Linked DNA regions of Homo sapiens: regions 1, 3, 4, 5 and 6 are each linked to region 2. The links are contacts of gene promoters, found by promoter capture Hi-C in human tissues and cell types (Jung and others, 2019). All regions are on one chromosome and are shown on one strand. Each heading gives the region's core, a stretch centred on a gene start or on the middle of the fragment in contact. The rest is flanking DNA. Distances are from core to core; before and after follow the strand shown. Region 1 overlaps NUP50 (nucleoporin 50). Region 2 holds the start of PRR5-ARHGAP8 (PRR5-ARHGAP8 readthrough). Region 3 overlaps NUP50-DT (NUP50 divergent transcript). Region 4 overlaps PHF21B (PHD finger protein 21B). Region 5 has its middle 71 kb from the start of NUP50-DT. Region 6 has its middle 51 kb from the start of NUP50-DT.

What was found. The method cuts DNA at HindIII sites, captures the fragments that hold promoters and counts their contacts. A contact is called where the count stands out against the background at its distance.
Region 1: a contact is called between a fragment that was not itself captured here and the fragment with the promoter of PRR5-ARHGAP8 in region 2, in 1 of the 25 tissues and cell types used here (ovary).
Region 3: a fragment that was not itself captured here is called in contact with the fragment with the promoter of PRR5-ARHGAP8 in region 2 in 4 of the 25 tissues and cell types used here (IMR-90 fibroblasts, dorsolateral prefrontal cortex, lymphoblastoid cells and 1 more).
Region 4: a fragment that was not itself captured here is called in contact with the fragment with the promoter of PRR5-ARHGAP8 in region 2 in 2 of the 25 tissues and cell types used here (adrenal gland and lymphoblastoid cells).
Region 5: a contact is called between a fragment that was not itself captured here and the fragment with the promoter of PRR5-ARHGAP8 in region 2, in 3 of the 25 tissues and cell types used here (dorsolateral prefrontal cortex, mesenchymal stem cells and mesendoderm cells).
Region 6: a fragment that was not itself captured here is called in contact with the fragment with the promoter of PRR5-ARHGAP8 in region 2 in 1 of the 25 tissues and cell types used here (dorsolateral prefrontal cortex).

What each region holds. Positions count from the first base shown.
Region 1 is chr22:45,169,394-45,172,093 of GRCh38, reverse strand. NUP50 (nucleoporin 50) reads right to left here. Exons shown (of 8, transcript NM_007172.4): 3 at 411-494. Among named protein-coding and RNA genes, the nearest start is that of NUP50, 6.8 kb to the right of the region's middle. The HindIII fragment of the contact is 3,699 bases long and covers 1-2,700 here.
Region 2 is chr22:44,700,919-44,703,618 of GRCh38, reverse strand. PRR5-ARHGAP8 (PRR5-ARHGAP8 readthrough) reads right to left here and starts at 1,415. Exons shown (of 15, transcript NM_181334.6): 1 at 1,011-1,415. The coding sequence starts at 1,144. PRR5 (proline rich 5) reads right to left here and starts at 1,415. Exons shown (of 8, transcript NM_181333.4): 1 at 1,011-1,415. The coding sequence starts at 1,144. RefSeq lists a silencer at 1,132-1,541. The HindIII fragment of the contact is 17,168 bases long and covers 1-2,700 here.
Region 3 is chr22:45,132,412-45,135,111 of GRCh38, reverse strand. NUP50-DT (NUP50 divergent transcript) reads left to right here. Exons shown (of 3, transcript NR_038956.1): 3 at 315-1,354. Among named protein-coding and RNA genes, the nearest start is that of NUP50-DT, 30 kb to the left of the region's middle. The HindIII fragment of the contact is 4,653 bases long and covers 1-2,700 here.
Region 4 is chr22:44,982,166-44,984,865 of GRCh38, reverse strand. All of the region lies in intron 2 of PHF21B (PHD finger protein 21B), which reads left to right. Among named protein-coding and RNA genes, the nearest start is that of PHF21B, 26 kb to the left of the region's middle. RefSeq lists an enhancer at 2,143-2,700. The HindIII fragment of the contact is 5,297 bases long and covers 1-2,700 here.
Region 5 is chr22:45,091,285-45,093,984 of GRCh38, reverse strand. No RefSeq gene overlaps it. Among named protein-coding and RNA genes, the nearest start is that of NUP50-DT, 71 kb to the left of the region's middle. RefSeq lists an enhancer at 1-227. The HindIII fragment of the contact is 3,268 bases long and covers 1-2,700 here.
Region 6 is chr22:45,111,419-45,114,118 of GRCh38, reverse strand. No RefSeq gene overlaps it. Among named protein-coding and RNA genes, the nearest start is that of NUP50-DT, 51 kb to the left of the region's middle. The HindIII fragment of the contact is 8,481 bases long and covers 1-2,700 here.

The sequences.
Region 1 (2,700 bases), core at 183-2,682, 470 kb before region 2:
CTAGCAAAAAATCCACACCTAAAATGCCTCTAGTATAGTGAAAGGGCTCCCCCTACCAAGGCCTCAATCGCAGGGAGCAGACAAGACTCTCAGAAGATCCTTGCGTTTTCCTTTCTTCCTCCAATCTGATGCCACTTCGCCCACCTCTGTATTGCTTTGCTCATTTTTCTTCTCCAGATTGTCACTCAACTTGAATTTGTCTATATTTATCTTATTTCCTCAACTGGATAAGCTCTCTTTAAGGTCCAGACCTGACGTTTCTTATTTTTTTCTATCTCCCATGACCTACATCAAAGAATAAGTATTTTAAGAAAGCATTTGTTGATATCATTGCTCCCAGCGGAGGGATTGCTGTGCAACCCAGAAATCAAATGAGTATTTAATAGCAAGAGCTGTAAGGGGGCACTCACTTCAAATCCAACATTTCTGCGCTTTGCTTTCTTTATGGCTCTATTCTTCAAGACTTCCTCACTGGCCATGGAGAATGTTCCCACCTGCAATACAATACAAATTAAGCAGCAGTAAGATAAAGCCAAACAGATGACAAAATCCTCAACAACAACAACAAGCTAGAACTGAGCCACTGTGTCCGGCCTCTCAAAAATAAATTTTGGCCAGGCACAATGGCTTGCGCCTATAATACTAGCGCTTTGGGAGGCCAAAGGTCAGGAGTTTGAGACCAGTCTGGCCAACATGGTGAAACTCTGTCGCTACTAAAAATGAAAAATTAGCTGGGCATGGTGGTGGGCACCTGTAATCCCAGCCACCTGGGAGGCTGAGGCAGGAGAATCACTTGAACCCTCCGGGAGGTGGAGGTTGCAGTGAGCCGAGATAGCACCACTGCACTCCAGCCTGGGCAACAGAGCAAGACTGTCTCAAAAAAATAAATAAATAAATTTTGTTATTTATAACATACACATGATTTTTAAGATGAGTCCTGCCCAACTTGCCCACTGTACGAAAGGCCACGGAGGCACCTAGGACCTTGCTGGACAACCACTGCTCTTCCACAGTGCGCTCAAAGCACACTCATGTCCACACTTCTGATGTCCACGTCAGAAAGCTGCTGAATATCTTCGGCTTTAGTTTATAGCCCTTCTTTTACCCTGTAGGGTCGGAATAAAATATTTCTCATGCAAAAATTCTCACCTATAGTTGTTTCAGATCATATTAAACTTAACGGGCTCCTACACTCATAGAGGGGACCATCTGGCTGCACTTGCCCCAAGTTAAATGTACTTAACTAAATGTAATCTTTCCACACATTTCATTGGCATATGTTCGAATGGGAGTTCTTTCATTCCTGAATATTTTAATGTCTAAGCAAATAGTTACATGGTAATCTAGATGTTACTATAGCCCAGAATGTAACTGTGCTTAAGATCTTAAACCAACAACAACAAAAAACCAAAAACCCCCATAACCAAAGATTTTAGTTAAAAAGCACCAAATCAGTTTTGACCCTGTCAAAACACTCACATCCTTGGGATTCTGGTTTCCCTAAACATATGTGAGGAGATACACTTGTAGAGAAAAAAAGTACTAGTACCAGAAAGATTCCAAAAGAAGGAAGATGGCCGTCTAAGAATAAGCTTGGAAACAGTTGCAGTTTTAACATTTTTCTTTTTTCACTTAGCACTATGCTGTTAACCTGAAAGTCGTGGTTACAGATTTCCTTAGTCATCTGGCCTGGGGGTAACACACTGCTGATAAGGTACGACTGTAGAGTCCAGCCCTACTGGGCTTTGCGGGTGTTCTCCTCGAAGGGGGAAACAGAGATTGTAAGAAATAAAGACACAAGACAAAGAGATAAAGAGAAAACAGCTGGGCCTGGGGGACTACTACCACCAAGACACGGAGACCGGCAGTGGCCCTGAATGGCTGGGCGTGCTGATATTTATTGCATACAAGACAAGGGAGCAGGGTGAGGAGGATGAGTCGTCCAGGGGATTGACAAGGTCAAGCAAGTCACGTGATCATGGGACAGGGGCCCTTCCCTTTTAGGTAGCTGAAGCAGAGAAGGAAGGCGGCGTACGTCAGCATTTTCTTCTATGCACTTATCAGAAAGATCAAAGACTTTAAAACTTTCACTATTTCTTCTACTGCTATCTACTAAGAACTTCAAAGAGGAACCAGGACTACGGGAGGAGCATGAATGTGGACAAGGAGTGTGACCACTGAAGCACAGCACCACAGGGAGGGGTTCAAGCCTCTGGATGACTACTGGCAAGCCTGGACAATATCCAATCTCCCACAAGAAGGTGGTGGAGCAGAGTGTTCCCTGACTCCTCCAAGTAAAGGAGACTCCCTTTCACGGTCTACTAAGTAACAGGTGCCTTCCCAGGCACTGGCGTTACCACTTGACCAAGGAGCCCTCAAGCGGCCCTTATGCGGGCGTGACAGAGGGCTGGCTCACCTCTTGCCTTCTAGGTCACTTCTCACAATGTCCCTTCAGCACCTGACCCTGTATCTGCCGGTTATTCCTTGGTTATATTAGTAGTACAACAAAGAGTAATATTAAAAGCTAATGACTAGTAATGTTTATACTAATGATTGATAATGCCCGTGATCATCTCTGTATCTAATTTGTATTATGACTATTCTTATTCTAACTATTTTATGTATTATACTGAAACAGTTTGTGCCTTCAGTCTCTTGCCTCGGCACCTGGGTAATCCTTCGCCCACATCCTATAAGTAC
Region 2 (2,700 bases), core at 166-2,665:
CTGACGGAGAGGGAAACGGAGGCAGGCATGTGACAGCCCTCTAGCAGTTTGCAACTCAGAGACAGAAGAGACCACGTTTGAAGAGGGTCTCGCTGGCAGCCCTGAGCCCACCATGACGCTCACAATGCATTCAATGAACTGAAAATAACGTGTGTCCAAGTGACAGCCGGGTTCCCGGTGGCCAAGACCACAGCCGGTGGAGCATCTGGCAAGATTTTACTGCCAGGTGTGGGCGCGAGAGGGGCAACGTCCACAGCCTCCCCCGAACAGTGTCCACAGCCTCCCCCGAACAGTGTCCACTGCCTCCCGCGAACAGCCTGCCTCACTTTCTCCTGCCTCTCATTTTCCTAGGGAGCAGAGACGCTGGGGAGTTCCACTAAATAAACCGTCTCTTTTCCAGATCCCGGACTTGCTCCTCAAACAAAGCTGGGAGAAGGGGCTTCCCAGGCCCCTGCTTGTCTGGGAATGACCCCTGGAGGAGAGTCCTCTAAAGAATGCCTCGCAGCTGCCGCACCCCCTGCTGACAGCTGGAGGACAGGGGGCCTCTCAAGGGAAAGCCGAAGGGAGCTTAAAGAGACACAGGAAGCCTGCGCGACCCACCCACTGAGCCCCGAGGCTCCCGTGCTCAGCCGCAAAATGGGAAAAATACTTCCTGCTCCGTTAGCCTCCCAGGTTGTCACGAGCACCGCAGTGGAGACGTGGAAAGACCCCGGGTAGGAGGCGGGCACGCGGCTTCCCGGCCCACCCCGCCGCCCACCCGCCGGGCGCTTCTGGGCCAGCCCCGGGCGCTGGCGGGCCTCGCTCCCTTCCCTGGGTTCTGGAACCACGCTGCACTGAACTTTCCTCCAGGCCCGCACCACTCCGGCGGGGCAAGTTCTTTGCAAACTGTGAAGCGCCGCGCCGCCTTCGGCAGCGTTCCTGGCTCGGGGCGGCCCCTAGCCCGCGGACGGCTCAGGGGTCCCCTCCCCCGGCTCCAGGGCCTCCGGGTGGCCGGGAGGGCGCGGCCTTACCTGTTCCAGGTGGCGTTGGCGCAGGCCCGGCGCTGCTGCGTGCCCCGCTCGTCCGCGGCGGCGGCCGGCTCTCTCTTGCCCAGGTCACTGAGGCTGGGCGAACTCATGAACTTCAACCTGCGGAGAGTCCTCATGGTGACCCGGGCCGCCTGCGCCGCGCCCACGCGCGCCCCACGCCGCGCCCTGCGCCACGCCGCACCAAGGGCCCCGGGCCGGCGATGCGCCCTCTACGCGGAAACTCCGGCGAGAGCAGGAAGCCGAGCGGTCCTGCGGGGTCCCGCCCCGGCCCCGCGCCTCCGTCTCGGGTCCCGCGCCGGCCGCCCCGCCGGGTTAATCATTGCACGGAGAGGCTCAGCGTGGAGCGCCAGGCGCGCGGCCAGCACAGACCCGGCGCAAACGGAGGCCGGGGGCGGACCCGGGGGCGGGCCCAGGGGCGGGTCTCGGCGCCCCGGGGGGCGGGGCGGGGAAGGGGGCGGGGGCATCGCGGGCGGGGCGGGGCCTCAGGCGAGGGGGCGTGTGCAAGAGGCGGAGCCGGCGTCTCCGCGGCCGCAGCTGCCACGACGCCTCGCTGGGTCTGCCCTCTGAGGACGTGCTCACCCTCCTCCCCTCTTCCGAGGGCCCCACGTGCCCACAGGAAACCAACACGCACAGGACGCAGGGCCCAAGCCCAAGCGCCCGCCCCCCGCCCAGCACTGCGGTCGCGCCCACACGATGTCCTTCGACCCCGGCCCCGGAGGTCTCCCTCCACAGCCCTCCTCGCAAAGGCTGTGCCACAGAGGTGCCTCCGTACCCCTCACCTGAACACAGGCTCCCCCACCCAGTTCTCATGAGGACTTTGGGTAGAGGCCTTCAGTCCCCTCCAGGCACCTTGGCCCAAGAACCCACTCCACCCGGGCTCAGCCTAGACCCCCTTGGACAGGGACTTCAGCATTGCCTGGCTGCCTGGAGGATTTGCTGGAGTGAGGGCTTGAAGAAGTAGAGGGTTTGCTCCTTATCTCCCACCCCCAGGTCTCTTGGATGGTAAAACCAAGCAGTTTCCCAAGTCCCTGTGGTGGGGGCAGAGTGATCCCAGTGAAGGCAGGGCACAGCCGGTGCTTCCTGCCTGCTTCGCAGAGCACTTTTAGATGTCTGATTTCACATGAACTAACATGAACTACTTCCGTGAGGTAGAGATTATTCTTCTCCCCATTTTCCAGTTGAGGACATTGAGGCTCACAGAGTGAAATAACTTGCCCAACATTGTGCCAACATTGTGCAATCAACAAATGGTAGAGTTGGGCTTCACCACAGGGAGCGTCCAGCCCCTTGAACAGGGCCCTTCCCAGTCCCCAGCTTCTGGGATTCCCACAAGGCTCACCTGACCCCTCCATCAGATGGGGGGTGACAGCCACAGCTCCAGGAGCTGGGAGGGCCCCATATAAAATGTAAGAGAGAGGTGATGGCTCATGCCTGTAATCCCAGCACTTTGGGAGGCCGAGGTGGGAGGATCACCTGAGGTCAGGAGTTCAAGACCAGCCCGGCCAACATGGAGAAACCCCATCTCTATTAAAAATACAAAATTAGCTGGGCGTGGTGGTGCATGCCCGTAATCCCAGCTACTCAGGAGGCTGAGACAGGAGAATCGCTTGAACCTGGGAGGCAGAGGTTGCAGAGAGCTGAGATCTCGCCACTGCACTCCAGCCTGGGCAAC
Region 3 (2,700 bases), core at 201-2,700, 430 kb before region 2:
GAACAAACTGAACAAGCTTTTCTTTTGGGTTCTACCAATATTTAGTCACCACAGGGGGTGCATTCCCACTGAGCATTTAAAACTCCAACCTATGCCTTACCCTATTTCCTTAATGCATTTGGTACTGTTTTCTCATGTATAACATGAGAGAAATGTTGCCTACTCAAAGGTTTGTTGTTAGATTAGGTGGCTTGGAGGGTATGAAAGTATTTGATTAACTGTAAAGCAAAGTACAGATGTAAACTATGGTTGTTATTGTGGCAGGTTGCAATTAATAGTTGGACACTAAAATCTGGTCTCCCCTTCTTCCACAGGAACAGAATTGCCATTGGGCCCAGGGAGAGACTACACTTCTTGTCTGCTTTGTTGCTAGTGCGGCCTTGTGGCCAAGCACAGAACGTGTGCAGTGATGATGGTGCAACTTCTAGGTCGTCCCCAGCATGGAAAATGAGCCCTGGGCATGGAAGATGAGCCCTGGTCCTGCAGCGGTGCTCTTTCCTCTTCTCACAAGCTGGAATGTGCATGTGCTCCCACCCAGCTTTGACCATGGGGCGAAAACAGTACTCTGCAGTCTGGCAGAGCAACAAGGTGGAAAGGGCCTGGGTCCTTGAGTGACGTCATGAGCCCTCTCACTGTCCCGACTTTGGGACTGTTATATGATAAGGACTTTCTGTGAGTCACTGTCTTTTAGAGTCTCTCTGTTTTAGCTGCCTGGACTTTATCCTGAATAATATGGCTGTTATCATGGGTATAGTGTTACTATGAGCCTCATCTAAGTAATTTCTACTCTGCCTTTGACCACTAAACTCATGTTGGACAAGAGTCACTTAGCATTATTTTTTCCTCAATGAAGAGGTTAAGATGGAGGGAGCAGGAGAAATTGAGGCCTGTGTTTTACCAGAAGGTGAAGGGCTGTCTTTGCCTTTCCTACATTTATGAAGGATAATTCTAGACAAAAACATTAAGTTCATATCAAACCATCTGCTTTGTGAAGCCATGGGCTTTGCTAGAACTTTCTGTGACATGACATTTATTAACCCGAGTCTACCTGGAAGTTAGAGCTGAGGAAGTTTTCCTAGAGTGGAAAAAGTCCAATGCACTTGTAAAAGTCAGACCAAGCTCAGCTCAGATTTCAGTTTTATTAGAAGTATGTCACCTTCCTGAGCCCTTATTATTTCCCCATCTGTGAAATGAGGACACCGTTCTCTCTTTCTAAGCATTGCTGGGAAGACCACACACCACTGAGACAGAAGGTGGGGCTAGCGCAGTTCTGGGCATTTTGTACACCCCCAACAAATACTGATTTATTTCCTTCTTTTTCCTTGCTCAGAAAAAATTGGAGAAGGCTTTATTTTAAAATTCTGCCTGAATTACTTTATTTTATTTATTTATTTATTTATTTTTTGGAGACAGAGTGTTGCTGTGTCACCCAGGCTGGAGTGCAGTGGTGCGATCTCAGCTCACTGCAACCTCCTCCTGCTGGGTTCAAACGATTCTCCTGCCTCAGCCTCCTGAGTAGCTGGGATTATGGGCGCCCACCACCATGCCCAGCTAATTTCTGTATTTTTAGTAGAGACGGGGTTTTGCCACATTGGCCAGGCTGGTCTCGAACTCCTGATCTCACGTGATCTGCCCACCTCAGCCTCCCAAATTGCTGGGATTACAGGCATGAGCCACCATGCCCAGCCCTTGAATTACTTTAGATCCTACTTTTTAAGAAAATATTTGGCCGGGCATGGTGGCACACACCTGTAATCGCAGCACTTTGGGGGCCTGAGTTGGGTGGATCACTTGAGTCTAAGAGTTCGAGACCAGCCTGGCCAACATGGCGAAACCCTATCTCTACTAAAAATACAAAAATTAGCCGGGCATGGTGGTGGGCACCTGTAATCCCAGCTACTTGGGAGGCTGAGGCAGGGAGAATCACTTGAACCTGGGGGGGCAGAGGTTGCAGTGAGCCAAGATAGTGCCACTGTACTACCGCCTGGGCGACAGAGCAAGACTTTGTCTCAAAAAAAAAAAAAAAAGAAAATATTTGACTTTCTTTTTAAAATGTATATGGTTTACAAATAAAGTTTACAAATGCTTTTACACTCCTTGTAGGCCACATTACTTTTCTGATCCCGAGGGGTGTGTATTTGTAGTTAACTCATTATGAAAGAGAAGATGCTAAAAGACAGCAGTCCTTAGGGTATGAAAGCAATACTGGCATTGATGAGCGAGGAGGCAAGAAAAATGGGAGGCACTAGGTAATTCTGACAATCTCAAGGCAAATGAAAGCTAGCTTGGAAAAGCCACCGTGAATTTTGAGTGAGATGGTGAAGCTTTAAGGCCCAGGAGGTCTGCCAAAATGAGGGTGTTATGATGGCATCCTAAAGTCGCCGTGTCTGAAGCCATAGGCAGGTCATTTCCAGGGCCACGCAGGATCCGGAAGATTCCAGGTGGTGGGTAGATACTTGGTGCTCCCCTCTCTGCTTCTCCTTCTTCCCTCTGGCCTCCTTTGTCCCTTTTCACTCAGCCTGCTTCCCCCGAGTCTGCCACTCTCTCAGACACATACACATATGCTCATTTGTATTCAAAGCCAGGTTCAGGCCAGGAGCAGTAGCTCACATCTGTAATCCCAGCACTTTGGGAGGCCGAGGTGGTTGGATCACTTGAGGCCAGGAGTTCAAGACCAGCCTGGCCAACATGGTGAAACCC
Region 4 (2,700 bases), core at 136-2,635, 280 kb before region 2:
GGTGCCGTCCGTTCCTCTTCTGCAGGGCTTGTAGTTGTGTTGGCCACCAGCGGGAAATGCCGAGGTTCTGGAAGGAAATAACAGGAATAGAAAACAGTCCTAATGTGACTTTTCTTGAAAAATAAAGCTTTCCATGAAATAACAGGATAAGCAGTCCTATCACCTTACAAATTAAATTAATAACTTACAGAGCAGGATTGAAATACAAATAAGCATGTATGTCACGCACTTTCATTCTCATGCTGAGCAGGTGTTTAACTCTCAGATGTGCCTCCAGCTACGGCATTGCCAGGCTTTGCACAGGGGCCCTCAGAGCCAGCCCCTTGACTGCACCTGAATCCCCGAGCTCTGTTCACCTGCGGAAGCCTGGTGCCTCCCCATACCTGGGGAATCCACCACTGGGTCCAGGAGTCTGTGTGTAACATGCTTCCCACAAGATTCGGGATCCCCTGAAGTTTGAGAACCAAGGCTCTGGGTAAGGTTAACCTTTTCCCTGGCCACCTGACCAGATGGAAAGATGTGAAGGTCATGCTTCTTCAGCTCTTACTGGCCCTTTTGTGGTGGTGATGATGATGATGATGGTGGTGGTGGTGGTGGTGATGGTGATGATGATGGTGGTGGTAATGAGGGTGGTGATGGTGATGGTGGTGGTGATGATGGTGGTAGTGGTGGTGATGATGGTGGTTGTGATGGTGATGATGGTGGTGATGGTGGTGATGATGATGGTGATCATGATGATGGTGATGGTGGTTATGGTGGTGATGATGGTGATGATGATGGTGATGGTGGTGGTGATGGTGATGATGATGATAGTGATGATGGTGGTGATGATGCCAATGATGATGGCGGTGGCTGTCATGCCTTGCTAACCTCTGGGAAAGATTGAGGACATCGGCATGTCGGAAAGGGGCCCAGCTCCAGTTCCTCAGAGTACATGCCTTGAATACTTGGGCATGGAATCTCCCCAAACTTCCCTTTTCCCACCTGCAAAATGGAAATAATATCTGTATCAGCTATAAAGGCTTATGCAAATATTAGTGGTTTTATTATAATTCAGAGGACTACCCTGGAGTTTAATCCTCTGAGTAAAAAGCAGGAAGTAAAAACTGTAGCAGTTTGTAAACAGTCTGTGATGTTAGATTGTTTCCATTTAACATTTTATGTGATTGGTGTTTAGACATTTCTCTTCATCTGCATTGGTTTTTCTTAGGGTAGATTTTCAAACTTATGTCTTTTAAAATACTTTTAAAAAATACAAAAAGTACAGAAGATGATGTGCTAAGCCTCCCTCGCCTGCCCTTTGGTGTGGTGTTTGCGACGGCCCAGGGCCCAGCTCTTCCAGGCTTGTCTGCTGATGCCCACAGGGACCCCTCCCTGCAGTCTTTGTTCCGGTTTCCTCAGGGCCTTTGCCACTAGTGGGGGTTCATGCTGAAGCCTCTGCCTGAGGTAGTGAGTTCCCCTGGGCCAAGTGGCTAGGGACAGCTGGACCTCCCTAAGAGCCACCAGCGGCAGCAAACATGCCAACATGTCTGCAGGTCAATGGGTGAGAAGCAAGAGGAGCCCAACTCGCTTTCCCGTTTTAGGTCATTCACTAGATTTCCCCCGGTTTTGCCTTTTTTTTTTTTTTTTTTTGAGACAGAGTCTCGCTCTGTCGCCCAGGCTGGAGTGCAGTGGCATGATCTCGGCTCACTGTAACCTCCGCCTCCTGGGTTCAAGCAATTCTCCTGCTTCAGCTTCCTGAGTAGCTGGGATTACAGGCGCCTGCCACCATGCCCGGCTAATTTTTGAATTTTTAGTGGAGACAGGGTTGGTCCGGCTGGTCTCAAACTCCTAACCTGAAGTGATTCTCCCACCTCGGTCTCCCAAAGTGCTGGGATTACAGGCATGAGCCACCGCGCCCGGCCCCTTGCATACATCTTGGTCCAAATCAGATTCTGTCTTGGGGAGCATCATTTCATAATCTCTGCTGGCTTTGAACTTGTCACAGTTCAGACGTCTTCCTTCTTCTGGCTCCTCCTGGTAGCCCCAGGTGCCTCCTTCCTGACAGAGCCTGCTGCTCCCGTAATACACACTCACCCCTAATGAGCTACTTAAAAATAATCAATGATTTCCAGATAAAAATCACCATTAATTTTAAATGCCCTCTGTAAACCTTGTTACAAATAATTGCCAGAAACACACAAAGTCTGAAATTAATTAAAATCGACAGCCTCATTTGACGGGAGTTGAGCTTCTGGCTTCTTGGTTATGTGCGTCTCTTGCTTGGGCAGAAGCAGTGGCTGCGAGATGTGAGCCCATGGGGGAGTTTGCTTAGGACCCGCCGAGCACTTGGGCCTGTGGAGGAGTGGGGAGGACACGGGCTTAGAGTCCTGCAGACTTGGCTGGCTGGCCTGTGCCCTCTTAGGGTAATCGGATGACTTTCCGAGCCCCAGGTTTCTCATCTGTGGAAGGGTTTGGTAGTGCCAGCTCCCCAGGGTTGCACGTAGGTGATGGCAAGGGTGTGCCTGCCCCAAGTGGATGCTCAGTCATGATCTTGTCGTCTTTCCTCTTCTCTCTCCCTGCCCCAGATCAGCCTTTGCAAAGTACTCATACTGGGTCATTCACTCACTCATTCACTCCTGCAGTGAGATACACAGAAGCTGATAGGCAGCAGAGGCGGCAGGGACACCGGGTTCCCCTCATCTGAAAAAAAAACACTGA
Region 5 (2,700 bases), core at 121-2,620, 390 kb before region 2:
TGGCTGGGAGCTGGAGGGGAGTGGGCCAAGGAGGAGAGGGGTAGGAACCAGTGGAGGTGGTTGGGGAAGCAAAGGTTGACAGCCACGTTGGTCACCTCCGGCTGCCCTAACAAAGCAGCATGGACTGCGTGGCTGAAACCACACACACTCATTTCTCACAAGCTCAGGGTGTGGCATGGCAGGGCTCTGGGAGGCCTCCCTTGCTGGTCTGCAGACACCGCCTTCTCACTGCGTCCTCACACGGCAGAGAGAGAGGGTGCGGGCTCCATGGTGTCTTTCTCTTGTAAGTAAAACCGTGCCCCCAAGAGTCAAAGATACAGACGGCCAGCAGAAATTCTTGAGTTTGCAGGGTGGCAGATGAGAAAGGAAACAGCTGGCTGGAATACTGAAGCTTCCTCTGCCCATGAGATGAAAGAATGGGCTGAAGTCAGTCGCAGCCCCGGGGACCGGCTGGAGTCCGTGCAGAACCCGCCTGCCAACGTCGCAGCCTGAATCGCCCCCTGAATTTGCACATGTGACACACGAGGTAGCATGAAGAGGTGACTGCACATGCCTAAGGACTTTCCAGACCTCCACTTTCTTCCGCCAATCACCTACAGATCCCAGAATCCACCCCTTGGACCTTTCCTAATAAAAATACTGCCTTGAGGCCAGGCACAGTGGTCCAGGCCTGTAATACCAGCATTTTGGGAGGCCGTAGTGGGCAGATCACTTGAGGAGTCCGAGACTAGCCTGGCCAACATGGTGAAACCCTGTCTCTACTAAAAATACAAAAATTAGCCAGGTATGGTGGCGGGTGCCTGTAATCCCAGCTAGTCTCGAGGCTGAGGGAGGAGAATCGCTTGAACCTGGGAGGCGGAGGTTGCAGTGAGCCGAGATCGTGCCACTGTACTCCAGCCTGAGCAACAAGAGTGAAACTCTGTCTCAAAAAAAAAAAAACAAAAAAAAGTAAATAAATAAAAAACACTGCCTTGAAGTATTCCAGCACCGGGAGACAGACTTGAGCTTGTCTCCTGTCTCCTTGGGAGCTGAGTTTCAATACAAAGGTTTTATTTTCTCAAAAACTCAGCATCATAAGATTGGCTTCTAGCACATCGGGCAGCAACCCCGTTTTGCCCTACAGCACAAGGACACTAACCCTGCTGTGTCAGGGCCCCACCCTTATAACCTAATTTAACCTTAATGTCTTCCTTAGAGGCCCTATCTCCAAATACAGTCACCCTGAGGGTTAGGGCTTGAACATGGATTTTAAGGGGACACAATTCAGTCCACATCAATACCTCACATGGGGGGAAGCCAGGCCCTCTGTCCTAAAACCCACCCGTCTCCCCAGGCTTGAGAACTGCTTTCCAGCCTATAAGAGAACAACCCCTTCTCCTCATAGAGCGAGGAGCCCTCCAGAGATTCTGCTGCCCCTCTGCTTCTAGAAAGACCCTTCTCCTCATAGAGCGAGGAGCCCTCCAGAGATTCTGCTGCCCCTCTGCTTCTAGAAAGACCCTTCTCCCCACTCCACCTTCCCATGTATCAGGCCCAGCCGCACACCCATCCGCTGTGAGTATGTTCTTGCTTTGTAAAAACTGTGCTGACACCAAACTCATCAAATTGTATATATTAAATATATGCCGTGTTTTGTATATCAAGTATACCTTAAAGCCATATTTATTTATTTATTGAGATGGAGTTTCACTCTTGTTGCCCAGGCTGGAGTGCAGCGGTGCAATCTCGGCTCACTGCAACATTTGCCTCCCGGATTCAAGTGATTCTCTTGCCTCAGCTTCCCGAGCGCCTTTCTTACAGGTGCCCGCCACCGCGCCCAGCTAATTTTTTTTTGTATTTTTAGTAGAGATGGGGTTTCACCATGTTGGCCAGGCTGGTCTCGACCTCCCAACCACAGGTGATCCGCCCGCCTCGGCCTCCCTAAGTGCTGGGATTACAGGCATAAGCCACCGCGCCCGCCTCTTCTGGGCCTATGTAAATTGAACACATTTATGAGGCCCTGCTCTGTGCCCAGACACTGTGCTAAGCTTTGAGGATCCACGATGACCACCTGGAGGAAGCCGCCGGTTCCCCTCTCCCAGGGATGTTTTCCATCTGCCTTCACCCGGCTCGTGCCCCGCTTGCTGTGGCTCTCGCTGTGTTGCGTTGTCTGCTACAGACCTTTCCTTCTACACTGTGTTACCTACGCGTTATCAACATCTGAGTGTCCTGTGATCTGAGTGACACCGATCCCAGTGCCTGGTCCGTGGCAGGCATTTATCTGTTGACTGAAGGAGAAACAAGAAAGTAAGGAAGCAGCCCCGGAGCTGGAGGGATCCGCAGGGCCCCCGAGGCCAGTTGTCTTGCTGCTGAGAAGCAGAGGAGTTCCAGAGCTTAGCGACTTCTCCCAGGTCGTCAGCGAGCGAGCGGCAGAGGCAGGACAAGAACCCGGAGCGCCCCACTTTACAGGGCACCTGCTCTCTCGACCTGTCTCTGGGTGGGGCTTTCTTGCCACGAACTTGCCCCTCCCCGACTCAGACTTTGTGCCTGGCCCTGACCCTTTCCCTCCTGGCCTCCGCACGCCGTGAGCGTGTCCCATCAGCGTGTCGAGTGAATCCGCGTAGACGCCCACCTCCCTGCCTGAGCTCTGCAGGTCCACCCTCTGTGTGGGACGGTGCCGCGTGCAGGTGCACACTTGAGGGAACCAGGTGGTTCAGGGTCCAC
Region 6 (2,700 bases), core at 78-2,577, 410 kb before region 2:
AACCTGGGCAACAAGAGCAAAACTTTGTCTAAAAAATAAAAAATAAAAAGAAATGTAACTGTGAGTTTTTCACATATGATCAGGTTGAGGAAGTTTCCTTCTATTCCTCACTTGCTGCATGTTTTTATGAAAGGGTTCTGGATTTTGTCAAATGCCTTTTTTGTATCTCCTGAGATGACCATGTGATTTTTGTTCTTTATTCTATCTATATGGTACATCATATTAATTTTTGGATGTTAAATCAAACTTGCATTCTTGAGATAAGAATCTCATTTGATTTCTGGGATAAATCCCCATTTGGTCATGGCATATAATCCTCTTTATATGTTTCTGGATTTAATTCGCTAATATTTGATTGAGGAGTTTTATGGTACATTCAAAAGAGATATTGGTCTTTAGTTTTCTCTTTCTTTCTTTCTTTCTTTCTTTCTTTCTTTCTTTCTTTCTTTCTTTCTTTCCTTCCTTCTTTCTTTCTTTCTTCTTTTTTTGAGACGGAGTCATCCAGGCTGGAATGTAGTGGTGCGATCTTGGCTCACTGCAATCTCTGCCTCCTGGGTTAAAGCGATTCTCCTGCCTCAGCCTCCTGAGTAGCTGGGACTACAGGAATGTGCCACCACGCCTGGCTAATTTTTGTATTTTTAGTAGAGATGGAGTTTCACCATGTTGGTCAGGCTGGTCTCGAACTCCTGACCTCAGGTGATCCTCTGACCTTGGCCTCCCAAAGTGCTGGGATTACAGGCATTAGCCACTGTGCCCGTCCTAGTTTTCTTTTCTTGTGATGTCTTTGTGTGATTTTGGTAGCAGAGTGACATTGCCTTCATGGAATGAATTGGCAGCCCTGTCCAGACACCATATTTAAGTCTATTAAGTGTAAGCATACAATTCAGTGGCATCAAATAAATTCTCCATGTTGTGTCACTCTCAATACTATCCACTCCCAGAACTTTTTCATTATCTCAGAGAGAAACTCTGTACCCATTAAACAACTCCCCAACCCCCTCTCCTCAGCCCTGACACCTCTATTAGACTTTTTGTCTCTATGAATTTGCCTGTTATTGATACTTTATCTGTGGAATCATACAGTATTTGTTCTTTTGTACCTGGCTTATTTCTCTGCACTCTTTTATGTTTTTCCAGGCCTGAAGGGTTTCATTTGAAAGTTACAATTTCAAATGAGGTGACCTCAACAGGGAGAGACAGGGTGGAGTGAACCACCGGAGAAACAGAGCCGAGGGAGGAGATCGGAGGATCTGAAGGAAAATATGAATTCCCTACGCCTTCAGAGTTGCAGGGAGAGGCCTTCCACAGCAGGGCTCTTCAAAGAGTCCATGAGAGTGCCCCAGAAGAGAATCACCTTTGAACATTTGCCAGAACTGGAGTGTAGCTGTTACTTATTGCCATCATAGGGGTGTGTAACAAACATCCCCAAAACTTATTGGCTCCAAACCATGACAAAGTCTGTGGTAATTGACTTGTCCGCTGGACTTTTTTGGTCTAGACTGGACTGGGCTGGGCTTTTTCATGTGTTTTTTTGTCAGCTGGCAAGTTGTCTGGGACAGGGCTGGTCTAGGCTGGCCTTGGCTGGAGTGACTTGGCCTGGCTCCATGTGGTGTCTCATCCTCCAGCAGGCTAGCCTGGTATTCACGTGGAGATCATGACAGTCAGCACAAGTATGCAAGATCTCTTGAGGCCTGGGCTTGGAACTGGAAGGCCACCATTTCCACAGCATTCTATCAGCTGAAGCAAGTCACAATGCCAGCCCAGATTTAACGGGTAGGAAAATCAACTCTGCCTCTTTAGTGAGAACAATTGCAAGGTCACATGAAAAGGGCACAGATTCAGGAAGGAGTGAAGAATTATAGCCATTTTTTTTTTTTGGTAATTTATGGCCTGGACAGTGTGAAACTAGTTTTTGATGCTTCCAATTTAGGTCCTTTTCTATCTCCTTACCACTTTTTACTGCCTACCTTCCTACTTCAGGGGCCAAAAACTGGCTGGGAAGCTGGGTGATGGGCTTGGATGCAGGAGAGAGAGTAGTACAAGATAAGAGAAATGGAGAGGAGGAGAACTGCCCACTTCCCCTGTAGAAGCAGACTCTTCTAATGTGAGAAGGTCTCACATTAGATCAAATCTGGAGACTTGATTGATATCTTGGGCTTGAGTTTCTGAATCAAGACTGTATTTGGGCCAGGCATGGTGGATTATATCTGTAATCCCAACACTTTGGGAGACAGAGATGGGTGGATCACTTGAAGCCAGGAATTTGAGACCACTCTGGGCAACATGGCAAGACCCTGTCTCTACAAAAAATTTAAAAACTAGCTGAGCATGGTGGCATGCACCTGTAATCCCAGCTTCTAGAGAGGCTGAAGTGGGAGGATTGCTTGAGCCCAGGAGTTCAAGGGTGCAGTGAGCTATGATTGTGCCATTGCACTTCATTCTGAGCAACAGAGTGAAAAAGCGAGACAATGTCTCTAAAAATAATAATTTTTTAAAGAGATTGTGTTTGGTAATTAGAGCAACTGCTTATTACCTGAGAGTACATAGGAAAGTCGAGGGCCTGCCAGAGTTTTCATCCTGGCCAGAGGAGGGCTGCTCCCTCCGAACAGATTTCATATGCAGAGCAGGAGGTAAAAGAGCTGTATTTGGCCAGGTGTGGTGGCTCACGCCTGTAATCCCAGCACTTTGGGATGCCGAGGT